6 separate regions of the Homo sapiens genome follow, and all the other regions are linked to region 3. The links are contacts of gene promoters, found by promoter capture Hi-C in blood cells and fetal thymus (Javierre and others, 2016). All regions are on one chromosome and are shown on one strand. The core of a region is centred on a gene start or on the middle of the fragment in contact, and the rest is flanking DNA. Distances in the headings are between cores, read along the strand shown.

Region 1 (4,273 bases), core at 1,448-3,947, 1.1 Mb after region 3:
CACCCAGAGTGCTTTTCACAACCTCATGTGTAATAAGTGCAGTAGGAGATGAGAGGAGGGAGTGATTACTTCTGTCTGGTTTGATCCCAGAAGGTTTTTTGAAGAAAGTGTTTTTGAATGAGACATTATGAAAACAGAGCTTCTTAAACCTTTTCCCCCAAGGAATCCCTGGGCAGATAGAAGAGACAGAAATCTGACCTCTGCTTAGTCTGGGGGTATAGACTGAAGGAACCTACTCAAAGGAGAAATTTTTCTCATTTTTCTTTACTTCACGATTCATATATGCAGGCATTCATTCTTTCATTCATGTATCTCACAGACATAACGAGGTCCTAATTAAGTGCCAGGCATTGTTTTACATGAGACCACAAGAGGCCCTACCCTCTTGCAGCTTACATTCTTGTACAGAATAGACATCATACGAATAAGCAACATAAATCATCAAGATAATTTCTGACCGTGGTAAGGGCTATGACCGAAATCAAACAGGGTAGTCAGTTACAGAGTGCATATACCTCTCTGTGCCTCAGTTGACTCATCTGTAAAATGGAGATAATAATAGAGGTCTAGGCTAGGCATGGTGGCTCATGCCTGTAATCCCAGCACTTTGGGAGGCCGAGGTGGGTGGTTCACTTGGGGTCAGGCATTCCAGACCAGCCTAACCAACATGGTGAAACCCCGTCTCTACTAAAAATACAAAAATTAGCCAGGCCTGGTGGTGCATACCTGTAATCCCAGCTACTTGGGAGGCTGAAGCAGGAGAATCGCTTGAACCCGGGAGGTGGAGGTTGCAGTGAACCGAGATTATGCCATTGCACTCCAGCCTGGGCAATAAGAGCGAAACTCAGTCTCAAATAATAATAATAATAATAATAATAATAATAATAGTCTATAATTCCAAAACCCAAAACTGAAAGCTTTGTCCTAACTCAGTTGATTGCAAACATAATATGATCTGAATGCATTTGGAGGTAGATCTTGACCTGAACTGAAGTTATTTATTCTTTTTAATAAATAAATGAGTTATTTATTCTTTTTAATAAATAAATGAGTCATTTATTCTTTTTAATAAATGAGTTATTCTTTTTAATAAATAATAAACTGAGTTATTTATTCTTTTTAATAAATAATAAATAACTGAGTTATTTATTCTTTTTAATAAATAATAAATGAGTTATTTATTCTTTTTAATAAATAATAAATAACTGAGTTATTTATTCTTTTTTTTTTAATAATTCCACTTAGAGTGGACAATCCTATATGTCACTGCAGAAATTTTGTGTGTTTGATTATGGAATGCTGCCCCAGGCCTCAATAGTTATTACATAATTTAGGGTACATGTAGCGTATTACCTTCTAAAATTTGAAAAATTCCGAATTCCAAAACACATGTAGCACCAAAGGTTTCGGATAAGGGATTGAAGACCTGTAGTATCCATTATTGTGAGGATTAAATGAATGAATATATGGAAAACACTTAAAATGATGCCTGGCATGTGGTAAGTGCTACGTAAGTTAACTACTATTACTATTATTATCACTATTCTTACATGAGAAGATATTTAGATAAGTTGGTCAGGGAAAGCCTCTCTGAGGATGTGTCACTTGAATAGGCAACTAAGGGGTGGTAATGACCGGGCTGTGGGAAGAGGAGGAGAAAGATGATTTCAGGAATAGGAAACAGCAAGTGCCAAGACTGTGGTGGTTACAAGGCTGGCTTGAATGCAGAACAGAAAACAGACCAGATGGCTGATATGTGGTAAAGGAGGGGAAAGATGGCTCAAGGTCAGAGAGGTAGGCTGAAGTCAGAACACCCTTGATATAAGCAATGGTAGAGACTTTGGATTTCATTTAAAGTGTAATAGGAAGACATTATAGTTGATCTGATTCAGGTTTATAAAGAACGCTCTGATGCTGTTGGATGAATGAATTATAGAGGAGAAGGGGGAGCAGGGAGAGCAATTTGGAGTCTAGCATAGTGGTCCAGATGAGACCTAATGACTAATTGGAGTTGGGAGGTGGTAATAGTCAAAGAGAAAAGTGGACAGGTGCGAGAAAAAAGTTTAGAAATAAGTGGGGGGCGGGGGAGGTTTTCTGATTAATTTGCATTCTAATTTATAATATGTCACTGTGTAGAGGCTAAAAATTTCACAGTCATTGTCTCAGGTGTGTTAAGGCCAGTGGCGTGCTGGACCCCACTTGAAATTGGCCATGGAGGGAATATTTACACTATAGAAATTGACAAATGCTACAAATCAAGACAACAAATCAGGCAAAGCTTCTTGTTAAACATTTACCATCACACCACTGGTGAAGGTGACTTGATTTTTCCACAACTAAACTTCCTTCATTTCACAGCCTCCATTTTCCCTGATCACGAAAACACTTAAACTAGGCACATCCTCGGAAACGCAGTATGAGGACTGCTGTGTCAATCACTTCATGTTTTTAACTCAATTCAGCGATCCTCCCACTTCTTCCCAGGCTCTCATTTAGGTACATGGGAATGGGATGGGAAGAGGGACCTGGTTCATGATTGTCATTTACCCACCTTGGCCCCCTCTGAAGTACAACTCCACTCTCTGCTTTACAATATCACTCTGGGCAGCATTACCAATTGCCTCCTGATAGTGGGATCTATGAACCCATTATGTCTTTGGACAAAAGCATAGCCAGGGGTTGGGTCCAGGGCCTGGGATCCTATAACCGTACAAATCCTATTATCAGGGACTATAAAATCCTATTATCAGGGACCATAGCCATCCCTCTATCTTGACTCAACTCCTCCTCCCTGAGTAGTGAACATTTTTCCTAAATCTCTGAGAAAGACTGGTGCTCTAGAAAGATGTACCATATTTATTTAAGGGCTTCCTGTACCCACTGGCATATTGCCATATATTCTGAGGTATCTGAGTGCTCCTTTTGAGAAACATAGCCTTAAAGGATAAGTAGAAATCTGGTGGGTGAAAATGGTAGGGAAGAGGACTTCTAACGGAGGGACTTGCAAGTCAGGGAACTTGGGTTTATCGACTAGTGAGGCTAGTAGAGGAATTCAATCAGGTAAGCCGGACAAGTAGACAGGGTACAAATTATGGAAGACTTTGGATGCCATGATAAAAAGCTTCAGCTCATACTGTAAAAAATAAAATAAAATAAGAAGGTTGGGTGCAGTGGCTCATGACTGTAATTTCAGCACTTTGGGAGGCTGAGGTGGGACGATCGCTTGAGCCTGGGAAACAATTTCAAGGAGTTCACAGCAAGAAACTGACTGATTAAGGTTTGGGAAGCTTGATAGATAGGGTAGACTGGGAAAGTGAGAGAGGAGGCTTTGGAGTGGACCAAGGATAGAGGGATCTCAGCTGATATTATGTCAGCTAAAACCTCAAAGCAAGGAGGATGTTAAGAACAATGAAGGAGGTCAGCTGGACTCTCAATGTTTTTAACGATAGGGAGGAAAAGATAGGGGGGTGACAAGAAGAAGAGACAATTTTGTACCTCTAACTCCAACAAACTTTAGACCTGAAAAATCCCTTCTGAGCCATCTTGCATTGGAGAAAAAAAATTGCTTATTTACCTCCAATTAGAGGAATTAAGGGAAGTAGGATTTTTTTGTTTTTCTTTTGAGACAGGGTCTTGCTCTGTCACCCTGGCTGGGGTGCAGTGGTGTGATCACGGCTCACTGCAACCTCAAACTCTTGGGCTTAAGAGGTCCTCCCAACTCAACCTCCCGAGTAGCTGAACTACAGTTGTGTGCCACCATGCCCAGCTAATTTTTTATTTTCTGTAGAGAGAGGGGTCTCACGCTATGTTGCCCAGGCTAGTCTTGAACTCTGGCCTCAAGCGATCCGCCTGCCTTGTCCTCCCAAAGCGTTGGTATTAGAGGCATGAGCCACCACATCTGGTGGAAGTAGGCATTTGGTTTCTTAGATAACAACATGATTGGTTGATTCAGTCACTTGGGAAGATAAAAGCATTAACTGAGCTAGATCCCTATGGTAGAGACACAGGCTGGACCACTCCATGCGTAAGTACTAAACTAAAACCAGTGTTCTGGAGTAGACATTGCTAGAAATCCTGAAACTTGAGAGCCAGTCCACGGTTAAAGCATTCTGTAAGGCAGAGCCAGTGGAAGGTAATAAGGTGATTTTTAAAGCTCTTCTGCACTTCCCATATTCCCTTTTAGGGCCTTTCTCCCTAGGGTCCCAGTGTCTGTCATGCTAAACCTAGATGCACAACAATCATCTTTATGGGTAGTTTCCCATATGTCCCAGTT
Region 2 (4,811 bases), core at 80-2,579, 1.1 Mb after region 3:
TTGACATTATCTGTGACTTCTTTGCTTGATGCAAAAGGTCATAGTTAGCAAAATAAAATACTGTAAATTTCTGTCTGACCAATTGGAGCTTGTTGCTTTAGAAAAAGCTTTGAAGCTTGACTCGTTCCGGGTAAAACTGAATGTTGCCACAGGAGGTCACTCTTGGGTAGGCTTTGTAGCTTGGTTGGGTTGACCACGGAAAGAAAATTAAACCTAAGAAACCTACCTACCACTGCTGAGATAGCAAGTGTCAACCTAAAAGTGGTATGGGAAGAGGGTAAAACTAGATAACTCAGATTTAACTTTTTTTCTGATTACATAATCTTTGAAGATGCTCTATAGGAAATTTGGAAAGTAGAAAGAAGAAAATCTTAACACTTTATATCTCAACCAGTGATGCCACTATGAATAATTTGGTGTACTATGTATCTGTCTCTCCTGGGGGAGCTGATATGGCACATGCACCCACAGAGAAAAGATTGTAAATATGTGCCCAGAAGAAATCCAAAACTGTATGTATATAATTTTCGTTCTGCCTTTTTCTGCCTAAGATTTCAGTGTGGTATGTTGTGTCAACATCATTTGTTAGGAGTATGTATTAGGTCTCCATGATATACAAGGAAAAGAAGAGTTACCTATAGCTTTTTCAGGAAATCATAGCGTTCTAACAACCCAGGAAGCTGTTTGCAGGGGTATTTTCTCTTATCTTCTTCTTCTGACATTACCATTGGATACCTTTTAGTGGCTAGGGCTCCCCACTCAAGTGAGATGTCTGTGTCCCCCACTGCCAAGAACCACAGAGCTCACCTTCTTTCCCAGTCCCACTTCCATGCCTACCCTGCTGTCTGCTTGTGAGCAGGCTCGTGAGAACAGGCGCCACCTGGCAGAGAGATGAAAACAGGTTCTGCTTTAACTTCTCCGGTATAGAACTTCCACCACAAAGGGCAGTGCTTCCCAGTGCTGGGCTGTGGATTGGTATCCTGTCATGCCCAAATCTGCCTAGTCGTTACCAAATAAGCAGACGGTAATGTATGTGGACATTTTGTGCGAGGTGTTCATGTGTCTTGGGAAAACCTGTCTCATGTTCCCAGAAAGTAGCTTTCCTTACCTGGAGTTTGAGTGGCTTTTATGACATTGGCATGTAGATAATAGAACTGTACGTGTTTTTTTGTTTGTTTGTTTTTTGAGATGGAGTCTCGCTCAGTCGCCCAGGCTGGAGTGCAATGGCGTGATCTTGGCTCACTGCAACCTCCACCTCCCGGGATCAAGCGATTCTCCCGCCTCAGCCTCCCAAGTAGCTGGGGTTACAGGCAGCCACCATCATGCCCGGCTACTTTTTGTATTTTTGTAGAGATGGAGTTTCACCATGTTGGCCAGGCTCATCTTGAACTCCTAACCTCAGGTGATCCACCCACCTCGGCCTCCCAAAGTGCTGGGATTACAGCTGTGAGCCACCGTGCCTGGCTGAACTGTAGGTGTTTTAAGGTGATGATGGAGCAAAATTTTTGTTGGCCTTTAAATTAATTTTTTTAATTAAATCTTTAAGTAAGGAAACTGTTGACAGCTAGACAAGTTTACAAACAAAGGGTATCTGCTAGGGCTACTGTGGTTTTGGTTGCATCCTGAAGAATGAGTGTTTTAAGGGTAGGATGAGTGTTCTAAGGGTAGGAGAAACATGGACCTCAATATAGTAATGATTCCCTTTGCTTCAAGGACGTTGATGTCTTATTCTCTTATCTCACAGTCTCTGTGTTTAACTGGAAAGTTTGGTCCCTTTTCTTTTATGATAATTGACATAGTTGGATTTATGACCACCACCTTACTATGTGGTTTTTTTGTTTTTGAGACAGAGTCTTGCTCTGTTGCCCAGGCTGGAGTGTAGTGGCGCGATCACAGCTCACTGCAGCCCCCGATCTCCCAGGCTCAAGTAATCCTGCCACCTTAGCCTCCCAAGTAGCTGGAACTAAAGGCGCATGCCACCATGCCTGGCTAATTTTTGTATTTTTTGTAGAGATGGGGTTTTACTATGTTGCCCAGGCTGGTCTCCAATTCCTGGGCTCAAGTGATCTGCCTGCCTCGGCCTCCCAAAATGCTGGGATTATAGGTGTGAGCCACCATGCTTAGCTACTATATGCTTTAGTTTTTCCTTCTCCACAAAGTAGACATTATTATTATTTTGGTTTTGTACAATCAACATTTGTTTAGATTTGTCCACATATTGATCAATATCTTTGCTTACCTTTCTCTGCCCCTGCCCCTCACCACATCTCAATGTATCTGTGGTGATTTTCCTTTTGCTTAAGTTGCATTCTTTAAGTGGTTATATGTTAGAAATAAATTCTCAGGTTGTATAGTTTGGCTGAAACTATCTTTATTTTGCTCTCCTTCTGGAAAGGCAGTTTTGCTGAGTATAGACTCCTAGCCTGAGAGTTATTTTCTCATATCACATTGAAGATATGACTCCATAACTTCTGGCTTCCATTGGGGAAGTTGAGGACTTGGCCATCCTTACTAGGTGACTTGTCTTTATTCTTTGTCTCTTTTAAGCTTTCTTGGTCTTCTATAGTTTTGTTAAGATTGTTTGGGAATTCATTTGTTGGGTTTATTGGATCCGAGGATCCTCAGATCCAATAAACCCAACAAATCATCAGGAAACAGTTGTCAGAAGACATCATTGGTCCTGTGTTTCCTACGGAAATAAAAAACAATAAATATTGCACTGAATGTTTGTGGTTTGGTGTCCCTGAATAATAAAGAAGGAACATATTTGCAAAAAGTTGCATAGGGTTTTTTTATGCAGAATTTTGTCAGAAGACAGTGGTGCTGCCATGTTTTTCTTTGAGTGCAAATGTACATTGCTAAGATTTTTTTAAGATGGCATGTGCTTTGAAAAGAGGATATTGCATTTTTAAGAGTTTAAAAATCTTATGAGTGAGAAATATTAAAAAATCTTATTTTCCCCTCTTTACAAGAAATAAAAGATGTTCCTCATAAAAAAAAAAAAAAAAAAAAAGGAAATATTAGCCGAATAGGTTATACAGAGTTACCATATGACCCAGCAATTCCACTCTGAGGTATATTCCCCAAAGACTTGAAGACAGGGACTCAAACAGATACTTATACACCAGTGTTCATAGCGGCAGTATTCAGTATAGCCAAAAGGTGGAACCAACCTGAGTGGCCATGAACAGATGAATGGATGAACGCAATGCGCTGTATCCACCCAATGGAATGTTATTCAGACTTAAAGAGAGATGAAGTACTCATCTATGCAGCCGTGTGGATGGACTATGAACAGTTTATGCTAATTGAAAGAGGCCAGACACAAAAATGCACGTATTTTATGATTCCATTTATACAAAAAGTTCAGAATAGAGACAGAAAATAGATTCATGCTTGGCAGGGCCTGGGGGGAGGGGAGAATAGGGAGTGCCTGCTTAAGGGGTGTGGGGTTTCCTTTTGATATCATGAAATGTTCTGGAACTAGACAGAGATAATAGTTGTGCAATGTTGTGAATGTACTTGATGCCATTGAATTAATACACTTTAAAATGGCTCCAAGGATAAATTCTGTGTTATGTATATTTTACCACAATTGAAAAGAAACACTGGCTGGGCACAGTGGCTCATGTCCGTAATCCCAGCACTTTGGGAAGCTGAGGTGGGCGGATCACCTGAGGTCAGGAGTTCGAGACCAGCCTGGCCAACATGGAGAAACCCTGTCTCTACTAAAAATACAAAATTAGCCAGGAGTGGTGGTGCATGCCTATCACCCCAGCTACTCAGGAGGCCGAGGCAGGAGAATCACTTGAACCCAGGAGGCAGAGGTTGCAGTGAGCCGAGATTGTGCCATTGCACTCCAGCCTGGTCAACAAGAGTGAAACTGTCTCAAAAAAAAAAAAAAAAAAGAAAAGAAAAGAAACACTGGTTGTGTTGTGAAAATCCTCAGAAATAGGGAGGGGAGCCTGGAGCACCTAACTGCCCTTCCCACTGCCTTCTCAGCCCCAGAGAGTGTCCCCTCTGTCCTTCATCAGAGCACGCGAGGAGCTCCATTCCTGGTCGTCATCTGAGGATGACACAATGAGTAGGACTAGGACTTTAAAACTAGTGTGTGGAGGTTATATCCTCCATGTACTGCGTCTTAAGTTGGGCCATGTGTGTATTGGTCCCCAAAGCATTTTTTCAGCTAAATTGCATAATGACTGTTATTTTAAAAACTGGAAAAGGAAAATCTTAATGTTACATTATACCTGTGGCATTGTCTTGAAATAAGTTTCACCATTTAAATCCACTCTTCACAGGAAAATCTGAAATGCCCCAGGCTCACCAGCAAGCGAGGCCTGCCCACTTTCTCTTCCTGTTGGCAGCTCAGCTCCTCCTGAGCTAGTGATTTTTTTTTTTAAAGAGATGGGATCTTGCTATGTTGTCCAGGCTGTATTCGAACTCAGACGCAAGCCATCCTTCTACCTGCGACTCCTGAGTAGCTGGGCCTACAGGCACGATGCCATGCCTGGCACCATTGATGTCTGAGCATTTGCCTTAGATGAGCAGAGGAGCTGGACTCACAGTTTAAAGTCTCCTTAGACCTTGAATGCAATGAAGCCCATCCTGACTAGCCTACATATTAGATGGCTGTATTAACCAGGACTTTTGTCCCCACTATCTGTGCCACAAACTGGGCAAATAGTAGTTCCTAAATAACTTACTTTAAGTTGTACCTGTCATGGTTTTAAAATGCTACCCACAAATACTAACAAACTGAATATCAAATTCTTACCCAGTAGTTCTATCCAGTGGCCAGGGTGCCCTGA
Region 3 (4,549 bases), core at 2,050-4,549:
CCAGCTCCGTGGTGCCAAGGTGGCTACAGCACTGACACCCTCTCCAACGCCGCATTCTGATGCAGATGATAACACCCAGTGAGGAAGAGGAGACTTTATGCCAGATGTATTTCTTTTGGGGGGAGGCAGGTGGAAAATATTTTCCAGAAGTACTCACAGTTCCCCATTTTAACTCGCTATGAGAATTTCTCATTGGCCAGGCGTGTATCACATGACCATACTTAAACCAGTCACTGTAAGAGGAAGGGGATTGCCGGGATTGGTTTAGACCAGTAGTTCTCAGCCCCGCCTGCACAATGGAATCGCCTGGGAACTTTGGAAACAAAATTCCAACTCCTGGCAACAGTATTTTAACAAGTTTTCAAAGTTCCCCAGCTGTTCCAAATGTATACCCAGAGGTGAGTCCTACCGTATTAGCCCGATCAAGTGTCACTCCAGCCCTGGTGAGAGGTCTGCTCTAACAATGTGGGATGGCAAACACCTGAACAAAATTGGGCCTCTGCCAGCGGGGCGGCGGGCGACGCAACTAACTGGATCCCGCACTGCACTCACCTTGCTAAGAGAAGCAATTCCTGTAGGTGACCTATAATGAGAAATCAAAAAGATTTGTTATAAGATTTAATGGTTATCTTAATCCCGACAAAAACAAGACCATTCTATAATCATGCCCGAATACAGACGAAACTACTGTCCAAACCTCAAAAACTGGAAAATGAGGAAAACACCTAAGTTGCAATTCAAGAGTGCCTTCCTCTCTGGAGCTTTTTCAGATACTCTCCCTCCTCCTAGAGAGAAGTAAGCTCTTCTGTCTCCTCTATTCCACACCAGCTTTATCAGGGTATGCACATAAAGCTTGAACTTGATTGCTTGCTGCTCCGCCCTCCTGAAATGTGCCCTCTGGGAGGACAGGGGTAATGTATGTATTCTACTTTGTGTGTCTAGCAACCAGCACACAGGAGGTCCAATAAATATTTGCTGAATGAATGAATGAATGAATGGGGGACACGGAGAAACAGATAAGAAATGCCTAATGTCAAGAGCAAATATTTACCCAGCCCTTATATGTCAGGCACTACACAAAGCCATGTACACTGAATTGACTCATTGACTCCTAAAAAACCCTATGAAGTAGGAGCCACTATTTCCTTCATTTTAAACATGAACAAAGTGCATTACAAAGAGACTAACCAGTTGTCCATGGTCACAAGCTAGAAAGTGACAAGCATGGGACTGGGTCCTGGAGAGTGGTTTGCAGAGCTGGCCATGTTCTTAACCTTTACACCCGAGAGGAAAAATGATGTCCTGCATTAAGGGTGGAGCCCTCTCTAGTGGATCCTAATCTGGAGGAGGACTGTAAGGGGTGCTGCCATTGGCAGGCTTTTTAACTTTTAGGTTCCTGAAGGCTTTTGCATTCTTGGACTTTTTAGAGGGACGGGGAAAGAGGAATTCCTCAATGACATAAGAAGGGGTGGAAATGCGGAGAAACAAAGGAAAGCATCTAAAATCCTATCCCTGAAAGGGTAGAGCCTGCAGCAGAACTCTCTCCAATCATGGGCAGGAAAAATAAAAAGGTGAATACTTCAGTTACGGTTTACACAGGACGTGCAATTACATGTGCTTCCAAGCCGCCCCTGCCATTTGTGGGGAACACCACCATCTACTGTTCTCATCTCTGATACACCACAACCTGGAGAGGAATCATGGTTCCAGTTCTAGTTTCTGCACCGTATTACCCCAAAGGCCATTTGACCATCTTCCCCCAACCTTTAACTCCTCTGTATAGCCTTATTCTGGCGGATGCAGCTATTACTCACCCAATTCCTTGGGCCAGAAAACCTGGAAGTCTCTCAAGATTCCTCCTTCCCTCTCCTTCACATCCAATTGGCCACTGAGTTTTGTGGGTTCTATTTCCTAAATCAATCTGTTCATTCATTCCATATTATGTGCCACGAATACGCCGTGATGAATTGGATAAGACCCCTACCCCCAGCTTCAAAGAGCTTACTGTCTTAATGAGGTCATTTTGCAAATGAACAACCCATTCTATAGCACAGTGGTACATGCAAGAAAGGGGTTAAGCAGAGTCCTGGGAGGGAACACCTCAGGGCTTTATGATTCATCTTGGGAAGCCTGAGGGCTTTTCTGTTGGCATGCCCACGCTGAAATGTGAAGGATGTATACCAGGAACCTGGTGAAGGAAGCGTGCAGAGGGGAAGCAAATGCAACTTTCTGGAGGCTAGAACAGAGAAGGGGAAGTTCACCAGGTCCGCAGAGATTAGCCTGGAAGCTGGTCTCCAGCCCGGTCCTAATCCAGTAATTACACTGCCCAACGGCTTTCCAAAACTCAAAAGAAAAAGCCCAGCACTGTCCTTCCTGTCCCTGGAAGTTTGTCCTTCAAGTCTCCCATCACTTGTCATTCGCTCATCAAGTATTTACTTAACATCCACTCTGTGCAGGTACCATATTGATAGCGGCCTCAAGGGTGCTTCTATTTAGGGAATTTTTAGTCTATTGGAGCAGATAGACCGTGGGGGGCATTCCGGGGATGCTGGGGGCTGTCAGGCCACGCTAGAAGCTGACACTGAAGACGTCAGCTACTCTTTAAGGACCCATCTGCCTCGCTGCCCACTGCTCAACCCGTCACTGGGGGCTCCAGGCCTGCCACCGGCTTGTCCTCTGAAGGGATAAGCAAGTGTTCTATTCACAGCCCGGAGTGCCCTTCTGCCCTCGCCCGAGGCCACTGCCCGCCTGGGGCCAGCTCCAGCGCTGCGTTCTCCAAGCGTGGCCACACTCATCGGCGCGCTGCTCTGCCAAGGGGGCTGACGCGGCGCGCACGGCCAGGGAGCTCTTGGGGGCAGACGCCGTCCAGCCTCCCGGCCGCCGGGTGCCTACTCCAGACCGGCTCTCTCTCTCCCTAGGCGCCTCCCACGCCCGGGCCGGAGAGCGGGCGCTCGGGGCGACGGACGACCCTGCGCGCACGTGGGCGCAGCCTGGAGGCCGCGGGGACCCTCTCCCATGGGGGCGACGGGAGACGTCCTGCCGGTAGACCTTGGCCAGGGGGTCGCGCTCCCCGCCCGCACCCCTCCCGGAGCCCCGGCGGGGACGTGCGGGGACGCGCCCGGGCGGGAGCGCGCGCGCCAGGCGCCTCCGAGGTCCCGGCAGCGGCTCGGGGCGGGCGGAGGAGGGGCCGAGGGCGGGGCGGCCGCAGCCTCCGCCATTCCCGGCCCCCCCCGGCCACGGCGCACCGCCTCCCCGCCCCCGCCCGCCCTCCCCCACCGCGCGCGCTCCGCCCGCCCCGGAGCCTCGCCCTCCGCCACGATGAGCAAATGAGCGCGAGCGAGGGCATGAAATTTAAATTCCACTCAGGGGAGAAAGTGCTGTGCTTCGAGCCTGACCCCACCAAGGCGCGAGTGCTGTACGATGCCAAGGTGCCGCCGCGGAGGGACAGGGAGGAGGCGCGGGCTGGGGGACCCGGGACCGGGGGCGGGGGCGGGGGCGGACGGCCGCGCGGAGCTGAGGGACCGGCCGGGCTCCTCGGCCTGCGAGGAGCGGTGCGGCCGGCAGGGGGCGCTCACAGGGCGCTACGCCCGGGAGTCGGGGCGGGGTCTGGGATGCTTCCACTTCCTTCCGTCAGGCCGGGCGGCGCACGCGCGGTTGGGAGCCTCGCCCATGCTTTGTCGCGTTACCGGGGCTACCGTTTGCGCCCCCGACTGCAACGGTGGCCGCTGAGGGAGGAGGCTTCTCGAATACGGTTTCTGTCTTCGCGTTAAATGTCTCCTTCTGTGCGGCCTGGTGCCGGGTGGGCTCCTGTGGGACGCCCTGGCCGTCCGATCCAGGTTCTAATTCATAGTTACACGGCGCTGGCCGCTGACTTGCGACGTTGTGTCCCTGGGACCCTAGTCCAGTTTAGGCCCCATCCCGCCTGTAGGCCGTGAACCCCATCCCGAGGGCAAGGTTGGCCCAGTGTTTTCGTACCCCAGGGCCTTGCAGCATTTACGTTTTCAAACTCTGAAGGATTTACGTGGGTCTGACCATAGTTGATGGGAATCGCGCCCCGGGCCGGTCCACCTAAGTCTCCGGGAGCTGAGCCACATCTTGCAGCTCCTCAGATTTGGGTGGCGGGCAGGAGTTGGCACCAGGTCTCCCAGATCCCCAAGGAAAGCACCCAGGTGCTTTCATTTCAGAGACCTGGGTTCCTAGGGCCACCTGGGCGAAGCCTTAGGCGGCAGGGACAGGGGCAGTCCCAGGTGTGTCTTTGGCGATGTCTGGACAGCTCTGTCCATTAGAGATGCTAAAGGACATCCCTAAAGGGATGAGCATATTCTGCCTTCAGTTCCCTCCCCTGCTGCTCCTGTCTTTTAACCGCGTCTGCTATCCCTCTTTCTCCTCGCCCTCCAGCCTCCTCGGGGCGGAGGGGGGGGGGCACGCCCCATCATTAGTTTTAGTTGTTCCCTCTAGGGACACAACAGGGAGGGATTCCAGAGTCTCCAGCTAGCCATCCTGGCACTGGACATAGGGGAGCCCAGGAGACTACAACTCCCAGAGCTCT
Region 4 (4,669 bases), core at 1,084-3,583, 1.0 Mb after region 3:
TTTGCGGGGGGGATATTTCTCTTAATTGGAGTTCAAAGGCGGTGTCTGCTATCATCACATAAAGTGCAAATGTTCATGTATGAAAACCATGCTTAGCTCTCTGGTACAAACACAGGGAGCTCTCGCGATCTGGCCCATAGGCTGTAGTTTGCAGACCCTTGCTATAGCTGAACACCAGTCGCCCACACTGGGTTTGCGGTGTTCCGGGGTGGGAAGTCGCTCCGGGCTGCGAAGCACCTCGAGGGATCCCCCCGGCCCGAACTCTCCCTCTGTGCCCAGCTAACCGCGGTTCATTGGCTCTCCCCGCGAGGCAGGTCTGGAAGATCAAGAATGAAGCTCGGAGCTCTCTCGCGGAGCAAGGACACCTTCGGGCTTCAGGACCACCCAGGGCGTCCAAAACTGCTGCCAGGGCTGTGCCCCCGCCCCCCGGCACTTTCCAGCTCCCCCTCCACGCCCGCTCTTCCTCCCTCTCTGCCCCCTCTAGCTCCTCCTCCGGCTCCTCCCCCTCCGCTCCTCCCCTTCCCTACATCTAGCCGCCGCGCTTTCCCGCTCCCGCAGCAGCAGCCTCCCGCGTCGCTGTCGCTGTTGCCTCCGCCACCTCCTCCGCCGCCGCGCGCCCCTCGGAGTTCCGCGCCCCACCATGCCCAACATCGTGCTGTTCAGCGGCAGCTCGCATCAGGACCTGTCCCAGCGCGTGGCCGACCGCCTGGGCCTGGAGCTGGGCAAGGTGGTCACGAAGAAGTTCAGCAACCAGGAGACCAGGTGGGGGCCGCGCCGGCGGCCGGGCTAGGGAGAGCGCTGGGCACGCGGCTGCGGGGCCGGGTTGGGGGCCGGCGCCTGCCCGGGCCACCTCCGCGGACGCCGCGCTCCCCCTTCCGGGGCGGGACGGTGGCAACGCGGCCTCCGCGCCCCCGCGCCCGCGCCTGCGAAGAAACCGAGGCGGGGCGCCGCGCGTCCCGATGCGCGCCTCGGCTGTGCCCCCGGTTGCAGGGCCTCCGGTCCTGGGACCGCGGCGACCCGGCGGTCCCGAGCCGCTCCCGGCCTCCCAGCGGTGCCGCCCGGCCTGGCGTCCCCAGCCCGGAAGGGAGACGTCTGGGCGGTCACAGACCGTCGGGGAGAGAGTGGGCGCAGCGGGCGGGAACCGCATCGGGTCAGCGCGCGGTGGAGAGACGTCCTGGGTTGGCTGGTCCCAGTTTCCGCGTCCCTACAAAGCTGAACCTCAGACCAGTGCGTGCGACTAAAGGTTTCCCCCCGTCCCCAACTCTGGTTGCACGCTGGGTTTACCTGGGGACGGTCCGAACGCTGCTTCCCCCGACCTGCCCCCAAGGGTTTGATCCAACGGGCGGAGGATCAGCGATTTTACAAGCTTCCCTGGCTTCTCCTGAGCAGCCAGGGCGCAGACCACTGCGTTATCCAGAGGGTGCAGTTGTGCCAAGGTTTGAAAGACTGTGAGAACCCCAGGACGCACGTGCTGGGCTCCCCTCTGCTCCCACTACTCTTGCTGCTTTAAAGATGATGGACTTTCAGCTTCCTTCTTGTTCTAGGACTCTGCTGTGTCCAGCAACAACGCCGTGATTCGACTGTAACTTTCACCCATTTCTCAAGTCCAGGAGAGCCTCAGGTGGTGGCCATCCTCGGAAGCTGACCTGGGGGGCTCCTTTGTCTATCTGCCTGAGTCCACACAGCTCCTTGACTCATTTCAAATTGGTCTCATTTTTCCCCCTTCTTCCTCCAATGTCTAGTACCGTTAACTGTCCACAGTTACTGATAATTTTTATATCTTTGGCAAAGGTTCAATTTTACCAACATTTTCTAGAAATGGTGTTGGAACAGTTGGACACCCATATGCCAAAAAATATGAACTTCCATCCATACTTTTCACCATTTGTAAAAATTAACTTTGAAGTGGATCATAGACCTAATTGTAAAATCTAGAACTATAAAATTTCTAGCAGAAAATCTTGACTTGGGGTTAGGCAAAAATTTCTTAAGGAGGAGTTATGTTAATACTGATGGGGAAGATGCTATATTTTGGCAAGTCAGCTTTTTAGGATATGTGAATCTTACGTGACTTCTTCCAGGTGGCAAATTCCAGTTATGGCTCCGATGATAATATAAGCGAAGAAACATTGTGAATGAGTGGCAGGTGGACTTTGGCTAAAGAATTCCACTCTGCAGTGTTTAATGCAGAAGTCTGAGAGGATGGTCTAGGGCTCTGGAGAAGGATAGAGCTAGGTTTGAGTGTTGCAGTATTTTGCCAGTCTTGTTCAAGTTTCAGTCGCTGTAAGAACACGAGAAGAAGAATAGTTTTTGTTCAGAAGGTGTCGTCATATAAGTAAAGGAGAAATTTGTTGATGAAGTAAATTTTGAAAGCAAATATGTTGCCCTTCCAGGTACTCAGTGCAGCATGATCTTTTGCTAAGGAGCATGGTTAATCTAGATCAGTTCACTGCTAAGTCAGTGTTGAGTTTCTCCTAAAAATACCACATGTGCCACTGGGCAAAACTCACTCAGACACTGAAGTATGATTGTTTATACATTTGGTTCAAATATAAAGCAGACTCACTTTTATTTTGTTTTTGGCATTTTATAACCATCACTTGATAATTAGAAATCGTGGGACCTCAAAAACCACTCAGCATGAAGTTTGGGAATTGCCTATATAGCTACATTTTATGTTTTTAATGTATAGAGTATAAAAGGTTCACTGCCTGACTTTTCTCTTTTCCATGAACTGTACAAGTACAGAGCTTAATTTTTATAAACAGCCCTCTCTGGACCAGTTACTGTGCTAGGAATCCAGCTTTTAGCTGTGTAATCGTAGAGAGGAAAAACTGAAGGGCAAAATGAAGACAAAATTGATTCAGTTCATGTAAGGGCCCCTTCTTGAATCTGTCACTGAACTAGGATCAGAAATCTGGTTTGCTGTCTCCTGGCCATCAATCCTCCCATTTTGCGTTTTTTATATGCTACTTTACTGAACATAGAGCCTTCCAATTTTACCTTCTTATCCCTAAATCATTTCAGATATGCAGGGAGAGGTCCGCTCCAGCTTCACTATAGACCATGGAAATTCCATGATGACATCTTAGGACAGCAGGTGTCTAGATGTCTCTGTTGTAACATTTTACTATGGTCAGTTAACCTGCTGGCAGAATCTTTAGCTATACTGTGAGACAAGGTTATGCAAAGTTATACAAGGTTATCGGTTACCATGTAATAAATAAAGAGCTTAATGGCTTAAAACAGTAATTGTTGATTTGGCTTACAAATCTGCAATTTGGGAAGGGCTCAGTGAAGAAAGCTTGTTTTTGCCGCGTATGGTCACAGCTGAGGCTGGTCACAGCTGAGGCGGCTAACTGGGGCTGGAGGGTTCTTGAAGATGGCTCACATGACTGAAGTTGTTACTAGCTTTTGCCTGGGAGCTTGGTTAGGAACCTCAGCTCCTCTTCTTGTAGGCCTCTCCATGGGGCTGCTTGAGCTTCCTTACAGCATGGAAGCTGGGTTCTAAGAGCACATGTTCCAAAAGACAGGACATTGAAGCCACCAGTCCATTAAGGACTGGGCTTGCAAGTTGGTGTATCATAATTTCTGTCATATGCTGTTGGGCAAGTACAGAGCCCTCTCAGATTCAAGGGCGGGAGACTAGACCCTGCTCCTTGATGGGAAATGTGTTAAGAGTCTGTGGCTATCTTTTAGTTACCATGCCCGTTTATTGTTGAGTCAGTGACGCTCTTCAGCGTTTTTATTTGGGGGTCAATAAAGATCCTCTGGCAGAATGGCAAATGGATGCTGCCTTCTAGCCACAATTTTTTAAAGACCTAGAATAAAGGTAGTCATGATCATCTTTTTGAGTAGAAGCAGGACTAGCTTTAGGGGAAAAGTTGCCATGGTGATGATATTCTCTGTCCTCCCCTGGACTGCTAGTCATATGAGAACTGAGGTTCCTGAGTAAAAACAGGCCAAAGAATCTAATCTTGTGGGATAAACGTCATAAGACCAGGAGTTGGCAAAGTTTTTCTGCAAAGGGCCAAATCGTAAATATTTTAGGCAGTGCTAGCACATGTAGTCTCTGTTGCTGCGGTATCTTACAGTTCTGTAAGTTACGGTAATGTCTGTCACAGGTTAGCAGGGCTGTATTCTCTTCTGAGGCTCTAGGGGAGAATCTGTTCCCGTGCCTTTTCCGGTTTCCAGAGGCAGCCCACATTCCTTCACTATTGGCCTCTTCACCTTCAATGTCAGCAACAAAATGTTGCTCTGACCCTGCTTCTGCTGTCTCCCTCTTGCATTTTTAAGGGCCCCATGATTACAATGGGCCAATTTAAATAATCCAGGATAATTTCCCCATGTTAAGGTCAGCTGATGAGCAACCTGAATGCTATCTGCAAATTTACTTCCCCTTTGCCATATAAACTCACATATTCAAAGGATTAGGATGTAGACATCTTTAGGGGGCCATTATTCTGCCTACCACGCCATTCTTAACTCACAGGCCATAGAAAAACAGCCTATGTGCTGTGTTTTGTCAACCTCTCAGCTATATAATACTGTACTTGATTTCTGCTGTAGTTCATTTTGTGCTGCTATAACAGAATACCAGAGACTGGCTAATTTATAAACAATAGAAATTTGTTTCTCACAGGTCTGGAGGCTGGGAAGTCCAATACTG
Region 5 (4,382 bases), core at 1-2,500, 1.6 Mb before region 3:
GAAGGAAGGGCCGCTAGTGCACGTGGCTTGTTGCTGTGGCAACTTCTTCAGCAGCCTTTTCTCCAAGTACAGCAAGAATGAGGGCAAGAGGCGGGAGGTGAGCCAGCTCAGCTTCCATCTGCAGCGAAACTTTCTTCTCAAAGCCCCCTCCTGCTGTCTGACTTGCAGGTTTGCACGTTTGTTTTCATGGAAGGCCTTGAAGCTTATGTAGAACTATTTGTTTTGTAGGTGCTTTCAGCTGCAGCGGCTGCTGGAGTCTCTGTTGCCTTTGGTGCACCAATTGGAGGCGTGCTTTTCAGTCTAGAAGAGGTGAGAATGGGCAGCTGAGGGAATTCGTGATTTTGAGCAGCAAGGCCCGTTGAGGGTTAGAATCAAAGAAGTATTGGATAAGATTCCGGCAGTTAATTAAGGAGCCACAATTTCCACTGTTTTTTTTTTGTTTTGTTTTTGTTTTTGTTTTTGTTTTTTTTGAGACTGAGTCTCACTCTGTCACCCAGGCTGCAGTGCAATGGCGCAATCTTGGCTCACTACAACCTCCGCTTCCCGGGTTGAAGCAATTCTCCTGTCCCAGCCTCCTGAGTAGCTGGGACTATAGGTGCACGCCACCACGCCTGGCTCATTTTTGTGTTTTTAGTAGAGATGGGGGTTTCACCATATTGGTCAGGCTGGTCTTGAACTCCTGACCTCAGGTGATCCACCTGCCTCGGCCTCCCAAAGTACTGGGATTACAGGCGTGAGCCACAATACCCGGCCACCAGCGATAAATTCCTGTTTTCAAGTATTGTTTCAAAAATTGCCAAGGTGATTTTTTAAAAAGATTTACAGTATTCTCCCTCTCATAACCAACTTAATTAAGCATTTTTGATTTTGGTAACCCAAACGGGTTATTCCAGGGGTTGGCAAACGTTTCTGTAAAAGGCCAGGTAGTAAATGTTTTTGGTTTTGTGGGCCATGCAATTTCTGTTGTAGCTGCTCAGCTCTGCTGTCATAGCATGAAAGCAGCTGTGAACAATACGTACACAAATGGGCATGTCTGCATTTCCATAGATGTTTCCTTATGGGCACTGAAATTTGAATTTTATGGTTTTCACATGTCACAAAATATTGTTCTTCTTTTGAATATTTCAAATCAAAAGATTTTTTCACCTTTTTCAATCAATTAAAAATGTAAAAACCATTCTTAACTCATGTGCCATACAAATGCATTCACTGGGCTGCACGTGACTTGCAGCCCAGAGTTTTCCAAACCCTGATCTACTCTGTTTTCTGTAGAATCCAATCCAGAGGTTTATTTGCTTCTAGGGGAGTCTCTGTGCCATGAACAGAATTATGATTAAATACTTTTCTCTTAAAAATATAGCCCAAACCCACCTTGATTAGTGTCCATTCCACTTCTAGACATAGTTAGATTCCTCCAGGTATCTTTGCTGATGCGTTTTGGTCACATTAAGTCCAGGCTCATGGAATGAGTGTGTCCACTCTTGGACTTAGAGTGTGACTTTCCTGCCAACCAGAGGGCTTGGCTCTGAGCAGCTCTTTCTCCGGCCAGTCTTTAATTTTCCACTTTTTCATCTCAGGTCAGTTACTACTTTCCCCTGAAGACCTTGTGGAGGTCATTTTTCGCAGCCCTGGTGGCGGCCTTTACGCTGAGATCCATCAATCCCTTTGGGAATAGCCGTCTCGTTCTCTTTTATGTGGAATACCACACGCCCTGGTACATGGCTGAACTCTTCCCCTTCATCCTGCTTGGGGTCTTCGGGGGCTTGTGGGGAACCCTCTTCATCCGCTGCAACATCGCCTGGTGCAGGAGGCGCAAGACCACCAGGCTGGGGAAGTACCCGGTGCTGGAGGTCATTGTGGTGACTGCCATCACTGCCATCATTGCCTACCCCAATCCCTACACACGCCAGAGCACCAGCGAGCTCATTTCTGAGCTGTTCAATGACTGTGGAGCCCTTGAGTCTTCCCAGCTCTGTGACTACATCAATGACCCCAACATGACTCGGCCTGTGGATGACATTCCAGACCGGCCGGCTGGTGTCGGTGTTTACACGGCCATGTGGCAGCTGGCCCTGGCACTGATCTTCAAAATCGTCGTTACCATATTTACCTTTGGCATGAAGGTAAGTGAAAGGGAAGGAAGATGGGGTGGGGACCCATGTCCTTCTGGGGACAGCACCCTACTCTCTAAAATAAAATTGCGGTGGGAAAAAAAGGGGAACTGGCCTTTCTTGAATGTTCTCATGTGCCAGGCACTTGACATTCCTTTAATCAATAGGAAATAACTTCTAATAAACAATAAGCTTATGAAATAGAGATTTTAATCCCATTTTACAACTGAGGAAACTAAGGCTCTGAGATCTTAAGTGGCTTGATCAGACCCACAGCTTATGGGAGACAGAGCTAGGCATCAAACCCACTTCACACATTCCCAGAACAGGTGGTGGTGACCACAGGTTTCCTGCCGCTGGCCAGGTGATGCCAGGTGGTGGAAAAAGCCCAGGTTTGGCTCAGTTTGGCTCATTAAACATGCATTGAGTATCAGCTGTATCTTAGGCATCGTGCTAAGTCTGAGGGATACAGAACCCAAACAGAAAGCTGCCCTTGCAGAGCACACAGCTCTGGGAGAAAGAGATGCAGACCTGGAGTTCTGACATTGTGATGAGCACCACGCTGGTATGACGGGAGCACAGAGTGAGTGTGTCCCCCGTCTGGGTAGGGCTGGGCATGACAGGGGCTCTTTGCACACATCCTCTTTGAAGAACAGAGCTGTGGATGACAGCACATGCTTTCTTTTCCTCCTCCCTCCCTCCCTCCCTCCCTCCCTTCCTTCCCTTCCTTCCCTTCTCTTCCCTCCCCTTCCCTTCCCTTTTCCCTTTTCCCTTTCCTCTTCCCCCTTTCCCCTTTCCCCCTTCCCTTCCTTTCGTCTTGTTCCCAGGCTGGAATACAGTGGCATGATCACAGCTCACTGCAGCCTCAACCTCCTGGGCTCAAATGATCCTCCCATCTCAGCCTCCCAAGTAGCTGGGATCATAGGCGTGAACCACCACACTTGGTGATTTAAAAAAATTTTTTGTACAGATGAGGCTCTTGCTGTGTTGCCCTGGCTGGTCCCAAACTCCCAGGCTCCAGTGATCCTCCTGCCTCAGCCTCCCAAAGTGCTGGGATCATAGGCATGAGCCACCACACCACACCCAACAGCACATGCCTTCATTACTCTTGTTCCTAAAGCCAGAGAAGAGACAGCTGGTTTCCTCTTTCATTGTGTTAAAATCATTTGTTAAAATCATTATGTTAAAATACTTTAAAAGCCCCTCCTAAAGAACTTTCTTTTATGGAACCTGGGATTTTGTTATTATAGCTTTTTTTTTTTTTTTGAAATGAGGTAAAACCCATAAAACATAAATGATCATTTTAAAGTATACAGTTCAGTGGCATTACATACATTCACAATATTGTGCAATTAACACCTGTATTTAGCTTTAGAACATTTTCATCCCCCAAACGGAAATCCCATCTCCATTAACAGTCATTCCCCATTTTTCCCTCCTGCAGCCCCGGCAACCACTAATCTGTCTCTAGATTCGCCTATTTTGGACACTTCATATAAATGATATCATATAATATGTGGCCTTTGGTGACTGGCTTTTTTCGTTTAGTGCAATGTTTTCAAGGTTCATTCACATTGTAGCATGTGTCACTACTTCATTTTTATGGCTGAATAGTATTCCATTCTATGGAGATCCCACATTTTGTTTATCCACTCATCCTTTGATGGACATTTGTGTTGTTTCCACCTTTTGGCTATTATGAATAATGCTATCATTACTTACTTAAAGAAACTTTTATTAGAGTATATCGTTCATATAGAGAAGTGTACAGCTTGATGGAGTTTCATAAAACACACACACACACCTGTGTAACCAGCACCCAGGACCAGAAGCAGAACATTATCCACCTCCCAGAGCCCCCTTTTGTGTTCCATTACTATTGCTTTCTGTGTGGCATTTCTATGAATTGTCTTTTAATTTTATTTATTTTTATTAAAAATATAAAATAGAGACCAAGCTCCCTATGTTTCCCAGGCTGGTCTTAAACCCCTGAGCTCCAGTGATCCTCCTGCTTTGGCCTCCCAAAGTGCTAGGATTACACACATGCGCCATTGTGCCCTGCCTGAATTGTCTTTTTTTTTTTTTTTTTTTTTTGGAGACAGGGTCTCACTCTGTTGTCCAGGCTGGAGTGCAGTGGCACAATCATGGGTCACTGCAGCCTCGACCTTCTGGGCTCAAGTGATCCTCCTGCCTCAGCCCACTGGGACTACAGACACGTGCCACCATGCCCAGCTGATTTTTGTATTTTTTGTAGAGATGGGGTCTTGCCAT
Region 6 (4,599 bases), core at 1,671-4,170, 1.2 Mb after region 3:
CTGGGGAGAAGAAAGCAAGACAATTAGAGTCACAGGTTCAACACCTGAGTTCAAGTACCTCCCTCATTTAAGAAAATCAATTCATGGAAGGCTGAGGCAGAGAATGGCTTGAATCCGGGAGGTGGAGGTTGCAGTGAGCCGAGATCACATCACTGCACTCCAGCCTGGGTGACAGAGCGAGACTGTCTCAAAAAAAGAAAAGAAAAGAAAATCAATTCAATGCAGTGGGAGAACTGTTATTGAGCAATTACTATCCACCAGACGCTGTGGAAAGCACAACTGCCTAGCTCCTCACACTCTTCCTGGTGATTCTCGGGTACAGACTAAGAGGATGTGGGGAGGACTTTTACATGCTCTTGGCATATATAACAGAGTGGCTACCAGCTGAGGTAACCCAATGATGGCTCTCTAAGCCTCAGTTTCCCCATCTGGAAATTTCTTATGGAAAGGCGGTGGGAAAGAAAGGAAAAAACAAATGTAAAACTTACGTTACAATGCCTGACTCTTAGAAAATATCAACCGACAGGAGTTGTCATGTTTTATTTGCTGTAAAACTACCAAAAGATCTTCTATCAACATTTTGTAAGTGAAAATAATAATATATATTCATATGTATTAATTATATAGAAATAATATATAATAATATATAAATGTCTCTATAGGAGAAATAATATCAAGACACCTAAAATTTTTAATTAATTCTAAACACTAAGACAATTATTTTATTATTTTTCCTCAACCTTCCATCCTAAATCATACGAATAATAACAATAGAAAGAGCTTACTAATTGTCATGCACTGTCCGAAGCATTTACTCCTCCCAACAACCCTGTGAGGTCGGTGTTGCAATGAACCCATTTTACAGATGAGAAAACTCCAGCACAGAAAGATTCATTCACATGGCCAGAGTCATGCAACTTTTAAGAATATTCCTTTGGTTTGCATTTCCTTGTATCTGCACCACCCTTCCCTTTCCTGTCTCTCTAGGTCTCCTGACCGGTTGGCAGGTCAGTCCCAATCATGGGAACTCTTTTCCTTTAAGCAGTCGTCTCTCTTTCTCTTCCTCTCTGTTTCCACCTGCCCTCCATCAGTGTCTCAGCACAGTGGAAGGCTGCTTGCTACCGCACTGGAAAACTTCTCCAGACATTTCCAAGTTTGCATTCGTCCATCTCCTTTGGAGAATTGCTTCAGTGAGGCCTAACCCTTTCTGAGGAAAGGCCCTTGGGAGAAGAAGCCAGGAGAAGGTAGTGGCACTCCTTTGTCATCAGGAGACATTGGGAGGAAAGAAATGATTTTCGACAGCAGCTGGGTGAGGGGAAACAGAATCACAGAACCTGCGGAAACGGTGTCGGTACAACGGCAGCTGCCAGCTAAACGGGCGAAAAGGCACCCTGCAAGATCTTTTCTGTGTTTCAACGATGAAGTAGACTCCCAACATGGAACAGGGGCGGGGGGGCTGTTACCAGACAGGTGACATTTGGTGCATGCACGAACAGGTCCAGTGCCCCATTCGGAGGCCAGGAAGGCAGCCACCCAGCAGAGCATTAACTAGGGGACCAGACGGTCACCTGCCCCTGCTCACCCCCACCTCCTTCCTCCCCAGGAAAAAGGAAGTCAAGTAGATGGAGAAACGGGGAAGTCCAAGCTGCTGGCAGTGGCATTCAAGGGTCTATATATAAGGTTGACTCTAATCCCCAGCGAGACAAAAGCCTGTGCCATAAAAATGATTAGCAAGGGGTTTCTAAAAACATTTCCCCAGGCCACGGAAAAGGAGAAGGAATATTTTGCACACTGCCTTGTCTCTTAGAAATAATCACAGCTAGGCCTCTTTATAACCGGCGAGTCTTTTTCCTTTCACACGCCATTTGCAGGCGCGTGGCATGGTATTTGTAACTAATTTTCAGTAGCAAGTGGGTCACTGGTATTCACAGAGTCAGGTGCCATTTTGAAAACTGCTTCCCTCTACCCGAATCTCTTATATTTCCAGATGCAGATGCACTTCAGCGATGTCCTAGTGCTGGAAACGCTCCCTTGAAAATATAATTTGATTTTTGAATTTCATCTTAAGACATTAGAGATAATGTAACTGTAGTCTTTGGAATTCAACGCTGGCCTCCTTAGCCATCACTTTTAAAATTTATGAAAATAAGGAAGAGGAAGGTAAAGAACTTCCTCATTGTCCGGCAGTAAAGTCAATGGCAGAGCTTGAGCTTGACTTATTTTGCTAAGAGGGAGGTGTTTTACCCTATAAACTCCAAATTACCTTACACCCAGCAAATACTACTGTTGAGTGCTCACAAAAATTATGCTGATGAAACAATATGGATGTTTCAGTGATGAAACTTTCTCTTTTAAAATCACTTAAGGGTGCTTTACGTCCCACCCAAGGCAAGAGGAACGCCAGCGAGGAAGACAAAGAGGCCCGGGGTGGGGCGCATGCCCGCCACTGGACTGAAAGCTGAGTCACAGGAATCGTACCCCTGCAGCGGGCCAGGCCCTCCAGGGAGGGACACCGCGCCCTTGTGTGGAGATGTCCACAGTAGACAAAGGCAGTTTCGAAATAAAAGAATGCCTGTCACCCCAGGTGCCACCCCGACCCTTAGTTATTATGCACTGGTCCCCAAGAGCAATTTCTGCGCTGCTGTTGCAAAAATTCATCGTAATGAAATAAACGTAAAAGGGGAAAATGTGTTATGAAGTGTTGGAGGGTGCTTTGCTCATTTTTTTCGCCATCGTTGTGGTTAGGGTGCATGCACTAGTGGACCCCGGGTGGGGGTGGGGCTCCCCTCCCCAAAAGCCCGGCAGGCCTCCGGATGCCGTTCCGAGACGCGGCGCGAAGGAGTTAAGCGGGCCGGCGGGTGACATCACCTCATTTACATAGGAGCGCCCATAAAGCTGCGCCCGCCGCACCCCGCCCGACAACTCGGTGGTGGCCACTGCGCAGACCAGACTTCGCTCGTACTCGTGCGCCTCGCTTCGGTGAGCCCCAGGGCCCCTGCCTCCTTCCTCCTGCCGTCCTGCCTCCGTCCCCGCCCTTTCATCATCCGCGTCCCTGTGAAGGCATTCCCTAAATCCGAGCCCGAGTGGTTCTCCCCGGGAAGGCTACTTTGGGGAGCTGGGGGGATGCGAAACACCCTAGATACTGGATAATGGGGTGGGGAAATCGATGATTTAAGAACAAAACCGAAAAACTGGCGTTTTGCCGTGCCGCTCGGAGGGGACATTAAAAAATTTCTTAGTGTTTGCCCGCAAAGGTATTGTGCGTTGCCTTGGAGGCTGAGATATGGGGGAATAGACAAGTCCTTTGTTCTGAGGTTCATCTTCCGAGCCCCGAGCCTCCTCCCAGCCTCGGACGGCTGCGCGGGCTGCATCTGTGCAGCCTGGCGGCGGCGGGGCTGTGCTATGACATCTTTACAGTCCTTCTTGCAGAGACATGTGTGCCAGGGATGCCGAATTGCCGGGAGAGCAGGCAAGACCGGCTTCGGGGCGCGCGGCGGCCGCTTTGTGTGCGGGGCTGCATTGTGACGCGGGCGATGAAGCCGGTAGGGCGGTGGTCGGAAGCTCCAGCCGCGGCCGCCGCCTTTGTGAGAGGACTAGAAAGCCGGATCCGGCCCGCATCCTTGCGGAGAGGCCGCGGCTAGGAAATGGAAACGCTTTTCCTACCTGGGCTCCATTTTAGGAATTCTTGCCGATTTTTCCCACTTGAATTTGGAAGTGGCTTTCCTCTTCTTTCCTTGTCCTAGCCAGCCTTTAATTTTAAACGCTGTAATTAACAATTCGCAGTGGTCAATTTCCTTTATTCTGCAAGATTCGGCTTTGAGAGGCATCCGCCCTCTTTGGTCCACAGCGTTTTGAAATATGGGGAGGAGGGGCGCGGGGGGTGTCGCCTCTTTTTCTGTAGAAAGAGGAAGCTCGTGAGCGCGGAACGGCAGCAGTAGGAGAGCGAGAAGGGTTTTTTTCAGGCTGCGGGTCGGAGGGCAGAAGTGCAGTTCCCAGCCCAGAGACAGCGGGGCGGGTGGCTCTTCCTCACGCTCGCTCTTGGCTTGCTCCCTGCAGCTTTTCCTCCGCAACCATGTCTGACAAACCCGATATGGCTGAGATCGAGAAATTCGATAAGTCGAAACTGAAGAAGACAGAGACGCAAGAGAAAAATCCACTGCCTTCCAAAGAAAGTGAGCTCCGACCCACCCCCATCTTTAGAAAGGCTGGGTGGGAGCGGCCGGTGGGAGGGCGGGAGGCTGGGAGCGGCCGCGGGAAGAATTCGGGAGGGGGGAGTGCGGGGGAAGAGCCGACAGTTGATGAATGTGGCTTGCAAAGGTTAATTAAAAATGGTTTTGCAGCCAACAAACACGGGGCTTTAGTAATTTAGTAATGGAATATTTAATATGCCATATTAATATACAAACATTTATCCATTAAAATGTATTTCTATTTAGTATATTCAATATACATATTTTATTCCATTGTGGAATACCGTGTAGAATGTTTATGATTTGAAAAGATGCTTTAAATGAAAGCCCTTTAGTCTGTACTGAATCCTTTAATCATCTCCCTCCATCTTTTTTTTTTTTTTTTTTCTGGTCACAGCGATTGAACAGG

Evidence for each region. The method cuts DNA at HindIII sites, captures the fragments that hold promoters and counts their contacts. A CHiCAGO score of 5 or more calls a contact.
Region 1: a contact is called between a fragment that was not itself captured here and the fragment with the promoter of MSL3 in region 3, in 1 of 17 cell types (neutrophils). The highest score is 6.5, in neutrophils.
Region 2: a fragment that was not itself captured here is called in contact with the fragment with the promoter of MSL3 in region 3 in 1 of 17 cell types (naive CD4 T cells); the score reaches 5.2 in naive CD4 T cells.
Region 4: a fragment that was not itself captured here is called in contact with the fragment with the promoter of MSL3 in region 3 in 5 of 17 cell types (non-activated CD4 T cells, naive CD8 T cells, activated CD4 T cells and 2 more); the score reaches 12.1 in non-activated CD4 T cells.
Region 5: a contact is called between a fragment that was not itself captured here and the fragment with the promoter of MSL3 in region 3, in 1 of 17 cell types (neutrophils). The highest score is 11.3, in neutrophils.
Region 6: a contact is called between the fragment with the promoter of TMSB4X here and the fragment with the promoter of MSL3 in region 3, in 1 of 17 cell types (non-activated CD4 T cells). The highest score is 6.7, in non-activated CD4 T cells.

The regions. Positions count from the first base shown.
Region 1 is chrX:12,880,376-12,884,648 of GRCh38, forward strand. All of the region lies in intron 2 of TLR7 (toll like receptor 7), which reads left to right. Among named protein-coding and RNA genes, the nearest start is that of TLR7, 15 kb to the left of the region's middle. The HindIII fragment of the contact is 843 bases long and covers 2,277-3,119 here.
Region 2 is chrX:12,814,477-12,819,287 of GRCh38, forward strand. All of the region lies in intron 4 of PRPS2 (phosphoribosyl pyrophosphate synthetase 2), which reads left to right. Among named protein-coding and RNA genes, the nearest start is that of PRPS2, 25 kb to the left of the region's middle. The HindIII fragment of the contact is 2,432 bases long and covers 114-2,545 here.
Region 3 is chrX:11,754,938-11,759,486 of GRCh38, forward strand. It overlaps MSL3 (MSL complex subunit 3), which reads left to right and starts at 3,300. Exons shown (of 13, transcript NM_078629.4): 1 at 3,300-3,428. The coding sequence starts at 3,327. It overlaps MSL3-DT (MSL3 divergent transcript), which reads right to left and starts at 3,146. Exons shown (of 2, transcript XR_007068393.1): 1 at 1,815-3,146; 2 at 1-583. RefSeq lists silencers at 2,840-3,039, 3,060-3,209, 3,220-3,599 and an enhancer at 3,453-3,747. The HindIII fragment of the contact is 7,532 bases long and covers 851-4,549 here.
Region 4 is chrX:12,790,858-12,795,526 of GRCh38, forward strand. PRPS2 (phosphoribosyl pyrophosphate synthetase 2) reads left to right here and starts at 555. Exons shown (of 7, transcript NM_002765.5): 1 at 555-762. The coding sequence starts at 641. RefSeq lists a silencer at 811-1,260. The HindIII fragment of the contact is 1,938 bases long and covers 1,365-3,302 here.
Region 5 is chrX:10,206,468-10,210,849 of GRCh38, forward strand. It overlaps CLCN4 (chloride voltage-gated channel 4), which reads left to right. Exons shown (of 13, transcript NM_001830.4): 7 at 1-97; 8 at 229-309; 9 at 1,578-2,123. Among named protein-coding and RNA genes, the nearest start is that of CLCN4, 52 kb to the left of the region's middle. The HindIII fragment of the contact is 2,101 bases long and covers 201-2,301 here.
Region 6 is chrX:12,972,190-12,976,788 of GRCh38, forward strand. TMSB4X (thymosin beta 4 X-linked) reads left to right here and starts at 2,921. Exons shown (of 3, transcript NM_021109.4): 1 at 2,921-2,979; 2 at 4,057-4,172; 3 at 4,588-4,599. The coding sequence starts at 4,073. RefSeq lists enhancers at 1,358-1,427, 1,438-1,697, 1,718-1,837, 1,961-2,800, 3,640-4,478. The HindIII fragment of the contact is 8,223 bases long and covers 1-4,599 here.